3 separate regions of the Homo sapiens genome follow, and regions 2 and 3 are each linked to region 1. The links are contacts of gene promoters, found by promoter capture Hi-C in human tissues and cell types (Jung and others, 2019). All regions are on one chromosome and are shown on one strand. The core of a region is centred on a gene start or on the middle of the fragment in contact, and the rest is flanking DNA. Distances in the headings are between cores, read along the strand shown. Region 1 holds the start of STC2 (stanniocalcin 2). Region 2 overlaps LOC105377732 (a long non-coding RNA gene). Region 3 overlaps LOC105377732 (a long non-coding RNA gene).

Region 1 (4,897 bases), core at 1,284-3,783:
CTAGTGCCTGTGCTTACGCCACCTCCAATTCTAGCTACTATGTGTTCTTTTGGTTCTAAAGGGGCAGTTGGCTCAGGTGAAAACCAGGAATGTCCCTTGGAAGGCAGGAGCAAACAGCCTCAGGACGAACTTTGAAACTATGTAGGTCCTCTGAGGGCAGCCCCAGGGGCCCCATGGTAGCAAAAGGTAGGCCTAGCCAAAGGCTGGGCAAAGCAGGAGCAGGGAGAGCTCCATCCCCCTGGCCATCGCTCCAGGTATCCTGGGAGGCCTCTGCCCAGCACACTAAGTGTCTGCATCTGGCAAAAGAGGGCTTGCTCCTGCCCCATGGAGCTCTCTCCTATTTCTGCTTCTCAAAAAAAAACAGGTGACCAGATGCCTTCTTAATGTCAATATTGCTCATGTTCTCTCCTACAAAAGAGGCCACATAGAAAGAAAGTCTACCCAGCTGTACCCATAAGCAGGAGTGGGACCAAATGGCTACTTGTTCTCAGGAAATTCAGAGCCTTAAAGAGTTAGTTAGGAGAGGCCAGAATGCCGCTGTGTCGTTTGTTTGCTTTGTTTTTAAGGATCTACAGGAGGTAGTTTTCCATAAACTAGGAAGCTAAGTTAACTATGCAAACACAAGCAGGGTGGGCAATGTGAACTGGCCGTTTTAATGTATTTGTACCCGCACGTCCTTGCACAAAAGATCCAAGGCTGCGCGGAGTAATTGCTATTAGAATAGTGGGCATGGTCCCTACCGCCGCAGGTTCGGACCTTCAAAGTGACAATTTATGGATGCTCCCTGGCGCTCCAGCGCAGGGGAAGCCCACTCTGAAGACGCCCTCCCCACCCCCTCCTCTCCTTCCTTCCGACTCAGGAGAGCTCGACACGCCGGATAGCTGCGGCCAGCCGTGGCCATCCTGGCCCCCCGCCTCCGCCTTCCCCACTCCCGCGTGCAGCCGGGACACGGGAAAGGAAAGCTTTGGAAGTCAAGCGCCGGCCAAAAGATGACCTGCCCGCGTGTCTCCTCGCCCCCTCCCCCAGCCGTGTCACATGGCGGCCCCAACCAGGCGGGCAGTGCGCCCCGCCGCGGAGACCCAGGGCCGCGTCGCCTGGGCAGTGGGTGATGAAACTTCCCAGGCGCATTACCGCAGAGGGCGCGGGCGGGGCGCGGGGCGGGGGTGGGGGATCGAGAGCTGGTACCGGGGCTCACCTGTTCTCCAGGAGGAGGGTGGGGACGGGGGGAGGGGCGAGTGCGCGCCAACGCCGGGTGCGTGCCCTGGGGCGCTTGGGCGCGGCGCTCGTGTCCCCGCCCTCCCCCAGCCCTGCGAGCCCCCCGAGCTGCGCCGTGGGGTGACGGGACCGAGAGCAGTTCCTGTCCCCGGCCCCGGCGCGGGGGAGACGTGAGCGTGCACACGTACACACACAGCAGGGGAAGAGGCGCTCCAAGCGGCGCCCAACTTTCTCCTTCCCTCCACGGGCCGGGTGAGAAAGTAGCCGGGGGCTATCCCGACCCGGCGGTTCTTGGGGAGGGGGCCGAACAAGAAAAGGGAGGAGATGGAGATAACTTCCCCGGATTTAGCTTTTTTGTCTTTGTTTTTGTTCTCACCACTTCCATCGGATGACTGGAGAGTAAAAGGGAACCCGGAGCGGGGTGGCGAGCAGCGCTTTGAGAAAATGCAGGAGTGTGTTTGGAGACGCGTAAAGTTGCCTTTCAAGCTCTGGCCTCCGGGCACGCGATGCTCCGCGGCGGGCTGACTCAGGGCTGCCTTGGGCCTCCCTGCCACCCTCCTGGAAATGATGCAAGTCCTGACTGTCACCTGGATCCCTGCAGCCCAGCCTGGAATGCGTCTGGATTAGGGGAAAGACGAGAAACGACACTCCAGGTGTTGCACGGCCCACCAAAGCGGGAAGATAGGGCAGTTGCTCAGACCAAATACTGTATCTAGTGCTTCTGCTCCTATCTTCAATCGTGGGGTTCTTTTTAATGCAAAGTGTCACAAGGCCAGGAATTCCCATGTGTGCTCAGTTGGCCCACAGCATCATTGTGCCTAGGAAACTGCTTCAATTTATCAAGTCCTCTGGGCTGGGAATCTCACTGAATTCCAAACGGCGGAAAGAGGAAACTTTCCCAACCCGATGTGGGTGTGACGCGAGCCAGGGGCCCCAGGGACACTGTCCCAGAGCACACCGTCCCCCTTTAACAGCAACTGGAGCTTGGATTCGCTCTTATATTGTACAGTCCTTTCGACCATTGCCCTGGAGCACCCGCACACGCGCACGCATCTCCGGCCGCGCTCACACACACTCATACACACGCACGCAAACGCGTGGCCGCCGCCAGGTCGGCAACTTTGTCCGGCGCTCCCAGCGGCGCTCGGCTTCCTCCTGTAGTAGTTGAGCGCAGGCCCCGCCTCCCGGCCGTGTTGTCAAAAGGGCCGGGGTCTCGGATTGGTCCAGCCGCCGGGACAACACCTGCTCGACTCCTTCATTCAAGTGACACCAGAGCTTCCAGGGATATTTGAGGCACCATCCCTGCCATTGCCGGGCACTCGCGGCGCTGCTAACGGCCTGGTCACATGCTCTCCGGAGAGCTACGGGAGGGCGCTGGGTAACCTCTATCCGAGCCGCGGCCGCGAGGAGGAGGGAAAAGGCGAGCAAAAAGGAAGAGTGGGAGGAGGAGGGGAAGCGGCGAAGGAGGAAGAGGAGGAGGAGGAAGAGGGGAGCACAAAGGATCCAGGTCTCCCGACGGGAGGTTAATACCAAGAACCATGTGTGCCGAGCGGCTGGGCCAGTTCATGACCCTGGCTTTGGTGTTGGCCACCTTTGACCCGGCGCGGGGGACCGACGCCACCAACCCACCCGAGGGTCCCCAAGACAGGAGCTCCCAGCAGAAAGGCCGCCTGTCCCTGCAGAATACAGGTAAGTGCATGTGCCCCCGCAGCCGGGAGCTACTGGGAGAGGACACCGTGCACCCACGCGGCGCGCCCCAGGCGTTTCGCCGGGAGCCAGGCGCCCACCCAGGGCCACGCAAACTCTTGGGATGGCACGGGACGTGCAAAGGGAAGCGCGAGGCAAGGCGAGGTCCGCGCCGGGCTCCGAGGGCCCGGAATCTGCACGTGCTAGCAGGGTGATGAAATGGCTGGGGCAGGACTTGTTGCTGTCCTCCCCAGGGTCGAGGGGAAATGAAGCAGCGTCTGACGCTGCCAGCGCCAGCCCCCGCCCCCGAATCCCGGGTCCGGTGCAAAGCGCGCTTCATCCCGGCCGGCACGCGGGAGGCCCAGAGGGTCCCCGGAGCTGGGCTGCGCCCTGCGCCCGGAGAACTTCTCTTCCTGGCCTGCCGGCCTCAGTAAGGGTGCCGCGTCTTCCCCCTCCTCAAAAGATGCCCGACATCCCAGAACTTTGCCGGCGAGACAAATGGCATTGCGAACTTTCCCCCTGGGGGCACTGCTTTCGGAAGGGAGCGTGAGGGCAGCGCAAAGCGTACCTCCGCGGTGCTGCCGCCATCCCCAGCTCCTGGCCAGGTCAGCAAGCCAAGAAATGGTGACACGACCCGAACCGTGCGCCTCCTCTGCTCTACCGGCTCTTGGCTCACCGGCAAGCTGCAAAGCAGAGCCAGGCGTGCAGGGCACGGGGCTGGCCCTTTTCCCAGCTCGGAAAGAGAAAGAAAATCTGCCTACAGCTCCTTCGCTCCACGACCCCTCCCCCGACTTTGGGGGGCCGTGTGAACGCGGCAGCGGCGGCGTGCGTGCGCTCACCGCACGAGCTGGAATGCACGAGTGCCCATTAGGGACGCCCCAAGTGAGTGAATGGCGGCCCTGTGCGGTCCTGCCCCGGCGGCGCGTGGGGTCTTACGGATCCTGTCGCCTCCACATGCTGGGGCCGGCACCCCCACCACCCCGAGACCCTCGCCCACCCTCCCCCTCCTCTGGCGCTTCCTCTGAGAACTGAACCTGATTCTCGGTGGTCGGTGACCCTCAACAATACACGCCCCTCATTCTCTGGCTAGATTTAATCTGATGCGGGTTATCTGCTCCGACCCCGCCCTTCTTCCAAAATATACTTTTCTGATGTAATTTTGTGGTTGATTTAAATCAGAGACTTGGGTAGTGGAAAGGGAGGGAAGAGGCTTTGCACGCTGCAGCCTGACAGTTAACTCCCTCCGTCTGCCCCTTCCGAGAGAGGACTGGGGGCCACATTCGGTGAAGGGCTGCAAGCTTCCTCCCGGGCTGCGGGAATTCTAGGGGATTGGGTGATACCTCACCCGGATCCCTAATTAAAAGGAGCCTGCAACCTCTGATAGTGGCGTTTCTGAAGGCTCGCCCCCAGCTGACTCCACTCCTAAGCCTGCTCGCCAACCGCAGCTTCCCTAGCTGGTATTTTAATGCGAAGGGTTGGGAGGCACTGCCTTAATAGGAATTTTGTTTTGATTTTTAGGTGTTGAATCATAAAGCTGAATTGAAACTGCTTTTTAGATGCTGTCATTTGGGGGTCAGGAAGCAAATGGCTGTGATTTAATAGCAGCAACTTCTACAGATCAAGTAGAGAAGGGTACTTCATTGATGAAGTACAGTCTTCGACTCAAAATTTTATTTTTGTCTGTGGGTTTAAAAAGCGGAAATATATTTTGCTCTCAAACTAAGTATTCCCACAAATACTTTAATAAAATGGAAAGGATGAAAAGGAGGAATGCTCAGACCAGCCTTCTGGTTGTAATTTTTGTAATTTTTCGGCTCTTTTCTACAAATATTTACAAATAGAGATATTTTTCATGAGTAGATTAAAGGACGAAATTTTGTTTCCCAGGCTTTTTAGGTCCTGAAATAGTCATTACTAAGTCTTTTTTCCTCCTTAAATTTTCCTTTAGTTGTTAACTTTTATTTCAAATGACCTCTCTGCATTGCCCAGCATGGGT
Region 2 (4,897 bases), core at 762-3,261, 150 kb before region 1:
TACGTGTTTTCATGTCCAGTGTCTAGCAGGGTGAATGGTACACAGTAGGCATTTGATAAACATGAAGGAAGGCAGGGAGGGAGATTATCAACTCAAGTTGTCCCAGAACCCACGAGTTGCTGAAGTACTGACCGTACTTAGGGTACCCAGTAGAACCACAGCTGACTCGCACTCACCGCCAATTAACTGGTAAAGTTTGGAAAAGCCTAAGTTCCTTAAAGCCAAGTTCAAATCCTTCCCATCATAAGATATCAAACTTCTCCCACACAGCTGGAATTTATTCTGTTGTGTGTGTGGTAAAACACACATAACATAAAATTTACCATCTTAACCATTTGTAAGTGTTAAGTGCAGTGGCACTGAGCACATTGTTGTGCTATTATTAGCCCCATCCACCCACAGAACTCTTTTCATCTTGCAAAACTGAAACTCTGTACCCATTAAATAACTTCCATTCCTTACTGCCCCCAGCCCCAGGCAACCACCATTCTATTTTCTGTCTGAATTTGACTATTCCAGGCACATCATGTAAGTGGCATCATGCAGTATTTGTCTTTTTGTGTCTGGCTTACTTCACTTAGCACAATATCCTCTCAAGTTTCATCTATTTCATAGCATAGGTCAGAATTTCCTTCTTTTTCGCAGCTGAATAATATTCCACTGCATGTATACACTACGTCTTGTTTATCCATTCATCTGTTGGTGGACAGTTGGTGGATTCCTCCCTTTGCCATTGTGAATAACGCTGCCATGAACATGAGTGTGCAAATCTATCTCCGAGACTTTACTTTCAATTCTTTTGGGTATATACCACTGATACTACTTTTTAGCAATGAAATTTCCCCTGAATGAGTCAATCATTTAGCTGTCAAATGATTCAAGAATGCAGCAATTGTGAACTTATTCATATTTAGATTAGACTGTACCCTGTGCATACAGATAGCTATGAACCTGTGAGAACCCCTCTCCCAGTCACAGGCAGCTACACATTCTCAGTGAAAATCAGTGAAAAGGGTAGGGTTCCAAAGCCTGAGAGACCCAGGTGCAAATCTCAGGAGGAGCCCTTATTAGCTGTGTGGCTTATGCAAGACAGTGAACCAAAACATTCCTCAGTCTCTTCCCTGCAAACTGAGGAGTGAAGTGAAGGCTATCAGGAAAGTGTCCGAGGTGCCTGGTGCGTTGTGAGCACTCCGTAAACAGTGCACTTTCTCAGCTCTAAGATGCCCCTCCTTTGTTCACAATTTCACATTTCTAAAATCATATTTCCAAATTGAGGGTGTGCACTACCAGACACCAGCTTTTTCACTGCTGGTGCATTGACTGAACTTAGCCAAATGTCTCTGAAGAGACACAGAATTTCCCCAAGAAGATTCTGCGTTCCTGCAGGAGGAGAGGGATTTGGTGGGAAGCTTGCCCCGCACTGCACACCTTTTCCAAGCTGTGCCATCAGCGTTCCCTACAGTTCTCTTCGCCACTCTAAAGCTTAGGAGAAATAAAATCTGCTCCAGCCATCCATTTATTCAGCCATCCATCCCACACTTACCGAGGGACTGCCCTGTGCCAAACCTGATGTAGCTACTGGAAACCAGGAGATGACTAGAACAGGCCTCTTCTCCACAGGAAGTCACGGTGGAAGTGGGGGAGGAACAAAAGTAATAAGAATAGCAAACACTTACATGGGCATGTGCGCTAGGCACTGCTTCCAGTGCCACTGCCTAACTCATTAGTTCTCCCAGCAGCCCTAAGAGATAGTAAGTCATAACAATGACTTCCACTTACCGATGTGGAAACAGAGTAATAGAGAGTAACTTGCCCAAGTTGCACAGCTGGTAAACGATAGAGCTGAGATTTGCATTCCAGCCCTATGACTCCAGAGTCCATACTCCTAACAGGGCTGAGAGTCAAGAAATTTTAACCTCGGGTACTACACAGGCACCAACCAATCAGAACAAATGCCAGGGATTTTTATGATGCTCTTATATACCAGCTGAAACTCAGCAAGCCCTGCACTAACCACGTTTAACCTCTAGACTGTAGGAATCTAAGTTTAGACTAATGGGAGTCCTGTGGCAGAGGCATGAAGGAAGGTCCCCACCAGCACCCAAGATTCAGCAGGCCCAGCAGTCATTGGCCAACAATCACTGACTGCTTGTGGAACTTTAATACCTTTGCAGGTTGACAAGCGGTGAACCTGTAAATAGCTCTCCTTAGCATGGTTCTCCATAAATCACCGAGGGCCATTGTCACACATGGGATCTCATGTAACCTTCAAGACAGCCTATGAAGGAGGCCTCATTGCCTTCCCAGTTGACAAAGGAGTAAAGTGGGGCTCAGTGGGGTGAAGTGGTGCAATGAACTCCAAGTCAAAAATGTACACCTATCTGTCAAAGTCCCCTGTTCAGCTCAAATAAAGGAATTACTCTCAAAGAGAACATCTTTGACCCAATTCTATATGCTTGCCCAAAGCAATGGAGCTGGGATTGAATCCCACGCCTTTGTCTCCCACCAATGAGCAGCTCAGCTATCAGGGTCCCTTCCTTTATTTTCTGCCTGCTGTCCCCTTCTCAAGGTATCTACCCCCAGCCTCTCTGGTCAACCCGCACTATCAAAAACAGAACCCCTGTGGCTCTCCACTGCCTTGTCCTGCTCCGTTCTTCTTCAGGGCATTTATGATGATCTGGAATAGTAGTAGATTTATTTGTTTTGTGGCTATTTCTCCCTAACAAGAATATAAGTTCCATGAGGGTAGGAAATGTGTTTGTTTTGCTTTTTGCTGTGTTCTGGTGCATTGTACATGGTCAGTGAGATTTAGTCCAATGAATGAACACGTAAATGAATGGAAGATGGGTTAATGAATTACTCTCTTGTCTAAGAAGCCAGAAACAAGGGCTAGGAACTCACCTGGGACCCTGCAGGTCTAAGGTCCCCCCCAAGCTTGGGCTCAAGACTAATAGAAAACCTTGACCTCTTGCCTTCCCTTTCCCAGTCTCCTCCTCTTTCAAGGGCACTCTGACTTCAGGGTTCCTTTTGAAAAACACCCCATAGCTTCAGATCTTTCTCACTCACCCATTGCCTCGCACACATGCACACTTCCCTACTTTTACCCCAAAACAGAAGCAGACCTGGTCTATCTACGCAGGTACCTTGTAATCCTGTAACCTCATTCATGCACAGGCATTGGTGAATGATAACAGGTAACAGAAGTGATTTTTAAAAGGGCCTTCCAGTGACAACGTCGTGACATACTAGAATGGATGACTGTAGGAGTTTCTGGTGTCCTGGAAACCTCATATGTCTCATCATACACACACAAAAATGCCTGTGGATGTCATTCATTCATTTATTCATTTATTCACTCGATCGTTCAGCAAATGTTTACTAAGTGCCTTCTGCCTGCCAGGAAATGTCCTGGGTGCTGAGAATACACAGTGAGCAAGACAGCCCAGGTCACTGCTCTCAGAAATCCACCATCTAGTTGAAGAGGCAGAGCAGTAAGCAAAGACCTTGCCGAGGAGTTTAAATTCTTATTCTTACATTAGAACACAAGGTGGTAAGAGCACTAACAGAAATCTGTGCCGGGACCAGAGGCAGCTACCAAAGGAGTGGGGAGTCAAGGAGGCCTGCTGGAAAAACTGCAGTCTCTGATGGCTGTTGATGGTAGGCTAGGAGTTCACCAGGGAGCCAAGAGGTGTGGGTGTTCCAGGGTCTGCAATGATGCAGAGGTCTGAGGTGGCACAAGCAAGGCTGGCTCTGAGCCCACCCTGCTCCATGACAGCTTCAAAAATTGCTGAAGCTCAGCACAGCCAAGGCATGTGTACCAGGCAGGAGGAAAAAACAACAGGGCAGGGTGTCCTTGGGACAGATTAGATGCCAGTAATTCTTCCCTCCTTTTGGAATGTTAGAAACCAAGTATGTGTTCCTGGGGTTCTCATTCTCTATAAAATTGCCCAATTTCATTCTTATAATAACCTACGAGGCAAATCAGCTGCCTCTGCACACAATTTCCCGTGCCGCCTTGACCCTGCCACATCCAAGGAGCTGTTTAAACAGTCTGCTGTCTTTTCCCCTGAATGTCAAGAGAAAGAGAGCTGATGGCATCAGCAGCCACAACCATTATGCATGACCTGAGAGTTTTCTTTGACCCGCCAACTAAGGTAAATGCCTTTTGACAAAGACACCCAAGACTTCACTTTTAATTCAACTTGAACCTAAGTTTCTCTCCAGAGCACTGTCTCCAAAACGCTCAATTGCCCAGTGCAAAGAATCATAGCTCTTTCCTTTTCTGGCTTTCTCTGATACAACAAGCTTACAGCAACCGTCAGAAAAGAAGGCAAGTAACATCTGTGGTGGAGACCAGACTATGAAATTAGTTCAAACATACAGCAAAGCACTGTGCTCACTGCAGAGAGACACATGCTGTTCCGTGGATGTGAGCCCATTCATGAGTCACCATGCATAATAGGGCATTGTTGAAAGTGTTGGGAACATGAAAAATTCCTCACTGCCCAGTTTGGCTAATGCTGGAGCTATATTTGCCTTCAGAAATGAAGTCAAACAGAGTTGGCTTAACTTCCAGTTGACAGGCCCAAAGACCACTGGGCCACCATGTTTATTATGCTGATTTTTGTTTATAGGAGTTGCCGCCTGAGTTGTGTTTAAGAGGATGTTTTTTGTTTGTTTGCTTGTTTGTTTGGGGTTTTTGTTTTTGTTTTTGTCTTTTTGAGACGGAGTTTCAATCTTGTCACCCAGGCTAGAGTGCAATGGCGCGATCTCTGCTCACTACAACTTCTGCTTCCCGGGTTCAAGCGATTCTCCTGCCTCAGCCTCCCGAGTAGCTGGGATTACAGGCGCCCACCACCAGGCCCAGCTAATTTTTCTATTTTTAGTAGAGATAGGG
Region 3 (4,897 bases), core at 981-3,480, 130 kb before region 1:
TCCAACGTGTTCCAAAGCAATAGCACAAATGCACGCATCTGGCCAAATGCCATCGGCTGCTGTCTGAGGGCCATCTGAAAAGCAGCCTCTTCTTCCGGCCACCCCATCCCCAGCTGTCAGGGATCCCCACTTGGAGTCCTCATGCTCCTGAAATGATATGTCCAGGGCAGATGTCGCAGGGCTCACGTCAGGCACGAAGGCAGTGCTCCCCTGCTCAGCTGTCATGGCCGATTGAGACACAGTCCCAACCCAGGGCTCCCTCAGAGAGCCACCAAGACTGGACTGAGCTTCCCCCACAGAGATGCTGCTGACACGCCAGGGGTGCATCCTGGCTCTCCAGACTGGCAATGCTGATTCTAATGAAGTCACAGCCTTCACTGTTGTTCCTTTTTTAAATAATTGGGGTGAAATGCACATATCATAAAATTGAACCTCTTAACCATTTTGAAGTGTACAGTCCAGTAGCATTAAGTACAGTCATACTGTTGTGCAACCATCACCACCATCCATCCCCAGAAAATGTTTCATCTTGCAAAACTGAAACTCTATATCCATTAAACAATACTCCCCCATTTCCTCCTCCTCCCAGTCCCCGGCAACTACCATTCTACTTCTGTCTCTATGAATTTGGCTACTCTAGAGGCCCTCCTATAAGTGGAATTAGACAGTATTTGTCCTTTTGCATCTGACTTATTTCACATAGCACAATGTCCTCAAGATTCATCTATGTTGTAGTATGTGTCAGAATTTTCTTCCTTTTTAAGGCCGAATAATATTCCATTGTATGTCTATAGCATATTTTGCTTATTCATTCATCTATCGACGGACACTTGGTTGCTTCCACCTTTTGGCTATTGCGAATAATGCTGCTGTGAACAGAGGTGTACAAATATCTCTTCAAGACCATGCTTCCAATTATTTTGGGCATATTCCCAAAAGTAGAATAGCAATAACACAGTAATTCTTTTTTTTTTTTTTTTTTTTTTTTTTGAGATAGAGTCTCACTCTGTCACCCAGGCTGGAGTGCAGTGGCGCAGTCTCGGGTCACTGCAACCTCCATCTCCCAGGTTCAAGCAATTCTCCTGCCTCAGTCTCCCAAGTAGCTGGGACTACAGGCATGCGCCACCACGTCCAGCAAATTTTTGTATTTTTAGTAGAGACAGGGTTTCACCATGTTGGTCAGGCTGGTCTCCATCTCTTGACCTCATGATCTGCCTGCCTCGGCCTCCCAAAGTGCTGGGATTACAGGCGTGAGCCATTGCACCCGGCCTATCACACAGTAATTCTATGTATAATTTTTTTTGAAAAACCTCCATGCTTTTTTCCACAGTGGCATTTTACACTCCCACCAGCAGTGCACAGAGATTCCAGTTTTTCTACATGCTTACCAACACTAGTTATTTTCTGGGTTTTTGACAGTAGCCACCCTAATGGGTGTGAGGCAATATCTCATTATGGTTTTGACTTTTACTGTTACTCTTATTGTAACAGTCACTACTATAACTTTCTCATGTTGTACCAAGTTTGGTCTTTTAATAGTTAAGAGATGGGCTTCCTTCACTTCGAAGATAAATGATCCTTGGTGTCTAAACAACTTACTACAAAAGGCCAAAGTTCTTTTAAGAGAGATATTCTAAGGCTAAGTTACAGGGGCCCAAAGATCCTAAGTGATTAGCCCCATCCTCCCCTTTTCCAAAAAGGAAACAGAGGTCCCAGAGGGATCATGCAGTGGTTAAGAAATATGAACTGGGCAAATCTCGCTTGAAAACCTGGCTCTGCCACTCACGAGTTGCAGGACCATGGAGCTGTCTCTCAGCCCCTCTACACTTGGCTTCTTTTCACAGCGCAGTGGATAGGAACAGTGTCTCTCTTACAAGGTTGCTGCGAGAGTTAAGCTGTGTGCCAAATGCAGTGCCTGCCACAGGACAAGGGCTTGGTAAATTCCAGCAGCTCTTACGGTTGTTGCCTTCTTATTCTTATGAAATAAGTTGCCCAAGTCCCATGCCTAGTGAATTGGTTTCTTGATTCCCAGTGTTTGCCCTGGCCATGATGGTTCTTAACCCCACTTTCCCCAATGTCTATGCTCACCTTAAACAACTCTGGCTGTTACTTACTGTAACTGATGGCCTGGTTTCTAAAATGTACACTGAACTCATTCCCTCAATGGTACATTGAGTCAATCCAGCACAGGAAGAGAGAGGATCGGCTGCTGCAAATTCTGAAAGGTCCACAGTAGCAGAAGGCAAAGTGACAAATGACAGAGGTAGGGAAGGGTCTCATAAAACCTTTGACCTCAAGGAAGTTCACATGATCTGAAATGATGCTGCTCCCACATTCCTGGGGAGTTGCTTCCTCTTTGCATCGATTCCGTCATGCATTTCTCTGATATTTTACAGCTTACAAAGATTCCCTCCATTGATAAACAGTTGTTGAGAACCTACTCTGATTGAGCACGATGTGCCAAGTGCCAGAGTCACAGCCAAGAGCAATGCCAGAGGGTCTGGGGAAGGAGACAGACATGATTCGGAAAGTGACACCAACCAGTGGAAAACCGCAACTGTGCTAAGGGCAAGGAAGGAGGGAAGCAGGTGCCCTGAGAACCCACAAGAGGGGCTCTCAGCTGAGCTCTAACAGATGAGTCACAGGAAGTGTTCACAAAGTAGCATATAAAATAGACATTTATTTTGTGCTTCACTCCTCTCTGTCTGTGGGTCTTGAACATTTGCTGTGTGTAGATCCTTCACCAACCCTGCTGTACTTAAGGCTCAGGCATTTGATGAACTCAGGGGATTATGGAAAGCACGCAACTTGTCCATTAAAAGGACAGTGGGCAAATCAAGTGTAGTTTCTCCCAACTGCAGAATACTATGCAGCTGTTAAGAGGAATTAAATACACCTGCACAGGCTACTGTGAAAAGATTAGCACAATAAATTAGAAAGTGAAGAATTCCTGGTGTAGAAAAGTATTAGTAAATGATTCATTTATGTAAGGAAGAAAATCATATACACAAATATGGGTATAGTCAGACTCTTTTTTTGGAGGGACACAAGAAATTACTTATGTTAGTTTGTTAGGGCTGCCATAATAAAGTACCACACATTGAATGGCTTAAACAGCTGAAACATATTTTCTAGCAGCTCTGAAAACTTGAAGTCTGAGATCAATGTGTTGGCAGGGGTGGCTCCTTCCGGGAACCCTGAGGGGGGAATCTGTTCCACTCCGCTCTCTTTGGCTTGTACATGGCCATCTTCTTCCTATGTCTCTTTACACTGTCTTCCCTCTATGTAAGTCTCTGTGTCCAAATTTCCCGTTTCGATAAGAATATCAGTCATACAGGATTAGGGCTCATCTTAATGACCTTATTTTAACTTGATGACCTCTGTAAAGACCCTATCTCCAAATAAGGTCACATTCTGAGGTTCAGGGGGGTTAGGACGTCAACATATGAACTTGAGTAGGGGACACAATTCAACCCATGGCATTGCTGGGAGACAAAAGGGATTCATCTTTTACTTCATATATTCCTCTATAGTATTTATACTTTTATGATAAGCATACATTTCAATTACAAAAACAACTTTTAGTCCAAAAAGTGGGTGGAAATTTAAATCCTGCCACAAATCAAGCACCAAGTGAAAACATTGGGGTTGTATATTGTAGGTCAAAGTGACCTGTTTCTATATCTGAAACAAGAGGCACACCCTCCATTAAGGCCTCCAAGCGGGAGTGTGTATGTCCAAGAAAGGGAACCTGACCATCACTGGTCTTGCACACTTCTAGATATTTTTATTTTCTTTTAATTTCTATTTTGTTTTATATTGCGTGTGGAGGGGTACATACTTAAAACTTTCTACTTGGGGTTTGCCTTCTAAATAGCGTGCATGGCAAAGGCCTTGGGAGCACCTTTCACGAAGCTTAATATTTTCATAAGCAAAGAAAAGGACCTAGTCCGTGACTGCGTATGAGTCACGTTAGTTTGGTTTTCTTCAAAGGCTGACTACTCCAGTTGCTATCTCTGTGTGACACAGTGTCTTAGGATGACTATGTTATTTTGCTCATGATTTCATAGATCAGGAATTCAAGAAGGGATTAGCTGAGTGGTTCTTGCCGGGGGTCTCTTATTTGTTGCAGTGAGATGTTGGCTGAGCCTGGAGTCATCTGCAGGCTTGGCTGGGCTGCACGTCCCAGATGATCCTCTCACATGACTGATGGTCACTGGTTATCTGCTGAGTTCTCAGCAGAGATGCCAGAGCACCTACACGTGGCAATCTCAGGGCATCTAATGTCTTAAACGGTGGCTGACTTCTCCCAGAGGGAGTGTCCCTGAATACTTGGCAGAAGCCGCACGGCCTTTTCTGATCCAACCTCAAAAATTAAGGCATCACTATTGCTGGACTGATTGCAAGCCAGTTACATTCAAGGCTCAGATCCAAGGGGAGGGAACCAGGCAGAAACTCAATGCTTTTCCTGACCTAGCTTCAGAAAGAGCAGAGTGTATTAGTTATCTATCACTGCATAACAAATTCTCTCAAAGCTTAACAGCTTAAAACAACAAACCTTTAGGACTGTACAGTGTCTATGGGCCAGGAATTCAGAAGTGCCTCTGCAGGCTGCCTCTGACTCAAGGCCTCTTGTGAGATTGCAGTCAATATATCAGCAAGGGCTACAATTATCTGAAGGTTTGGCTGGTGCTGGAAGATCTAATTCCAAGATACTCGGTCACATGGCTATTGGCAGGAAGCTTCTGTTCCTCAGGGTTGTTGACAAAAGGCCTTAGTTCTTCACTGTATGGGCCCTTCCATGTGTTGCCTGAGTATCCTAAAAGCATGGCAGCCAGTTTCCCCAAGAACCGAGTGAGACAGAGATAGAGAGAGAGAGATAGAGATAGAGAGAGAG

Evidence for each region. The method cuts DNA at HindIII sites, captures the fragments that hold promoters and counts their contacts. A contact is called where the count stands out against the background at its distance.
Region 2: a fragment that was not itself captured here is called in contact with the fragment with the promoter of STC2 in region 1 in 1 of the 25 tissues and cell types used here (H1 embryonic stem cells).
Region 3: a contact is called between a fragment that was not itself captured here and the fragment with the promoter of STC2 in region 1, in 2 of the 25 tissues and cell types used here (IMR-90 fibroblasts and aorta).

What each region holds. Positions count from the first base shown.
Region 1 is chr5:173,326,050-173,330,946 of GRCh38, reverse strand. STC2 (stanniocalcin 2) reads left to right here and starts at 2,533. Exons shown (of 4, transcript NM_003714.3): 1 at 2,533-2,904. The coding sequence starts at 2,754. LOC124901137 (a long non-coding RNA gene) reads right to left here and starts at 2,348. Exons shown (of 2, transcript XR_007059056.1): 1 at 1,196-2,348. RefSeq lists a silencer at 1,120-1,339. The HindIII fragment of the contact is 8,569 bases long and covers 1-4,897 here.
Region 2 is chr5:173,471,980-173,476,876 of GRCh38, reverse strand. All of the region lies in intron 4 of LOC105377732 (a long non-coding RNA gene), which reads right to left. Among named protein-coding and RNA genes, the nearest start is that of LINC02995, 110 kb to the left of the region's middle. The HindIII fragment of the contact is 3,218 bases long and covers 403-3,620 here.
Region 3 is chr5:173,454,634-173,459,530 of GRCh38, reverse strand. All of the region lies in intron 3 of LOC105377732 (a long non-coding RNA gene), which reads right to left. Among named protein-coding and RNA genes, the nearest start is that of MIR8056, 110 kb to the right of the region's middle. RefSeq lists an enhancer at 3,555-4,754. The HindIII fragment of the contact is 6,989 bases long and covers 1-4,897 here.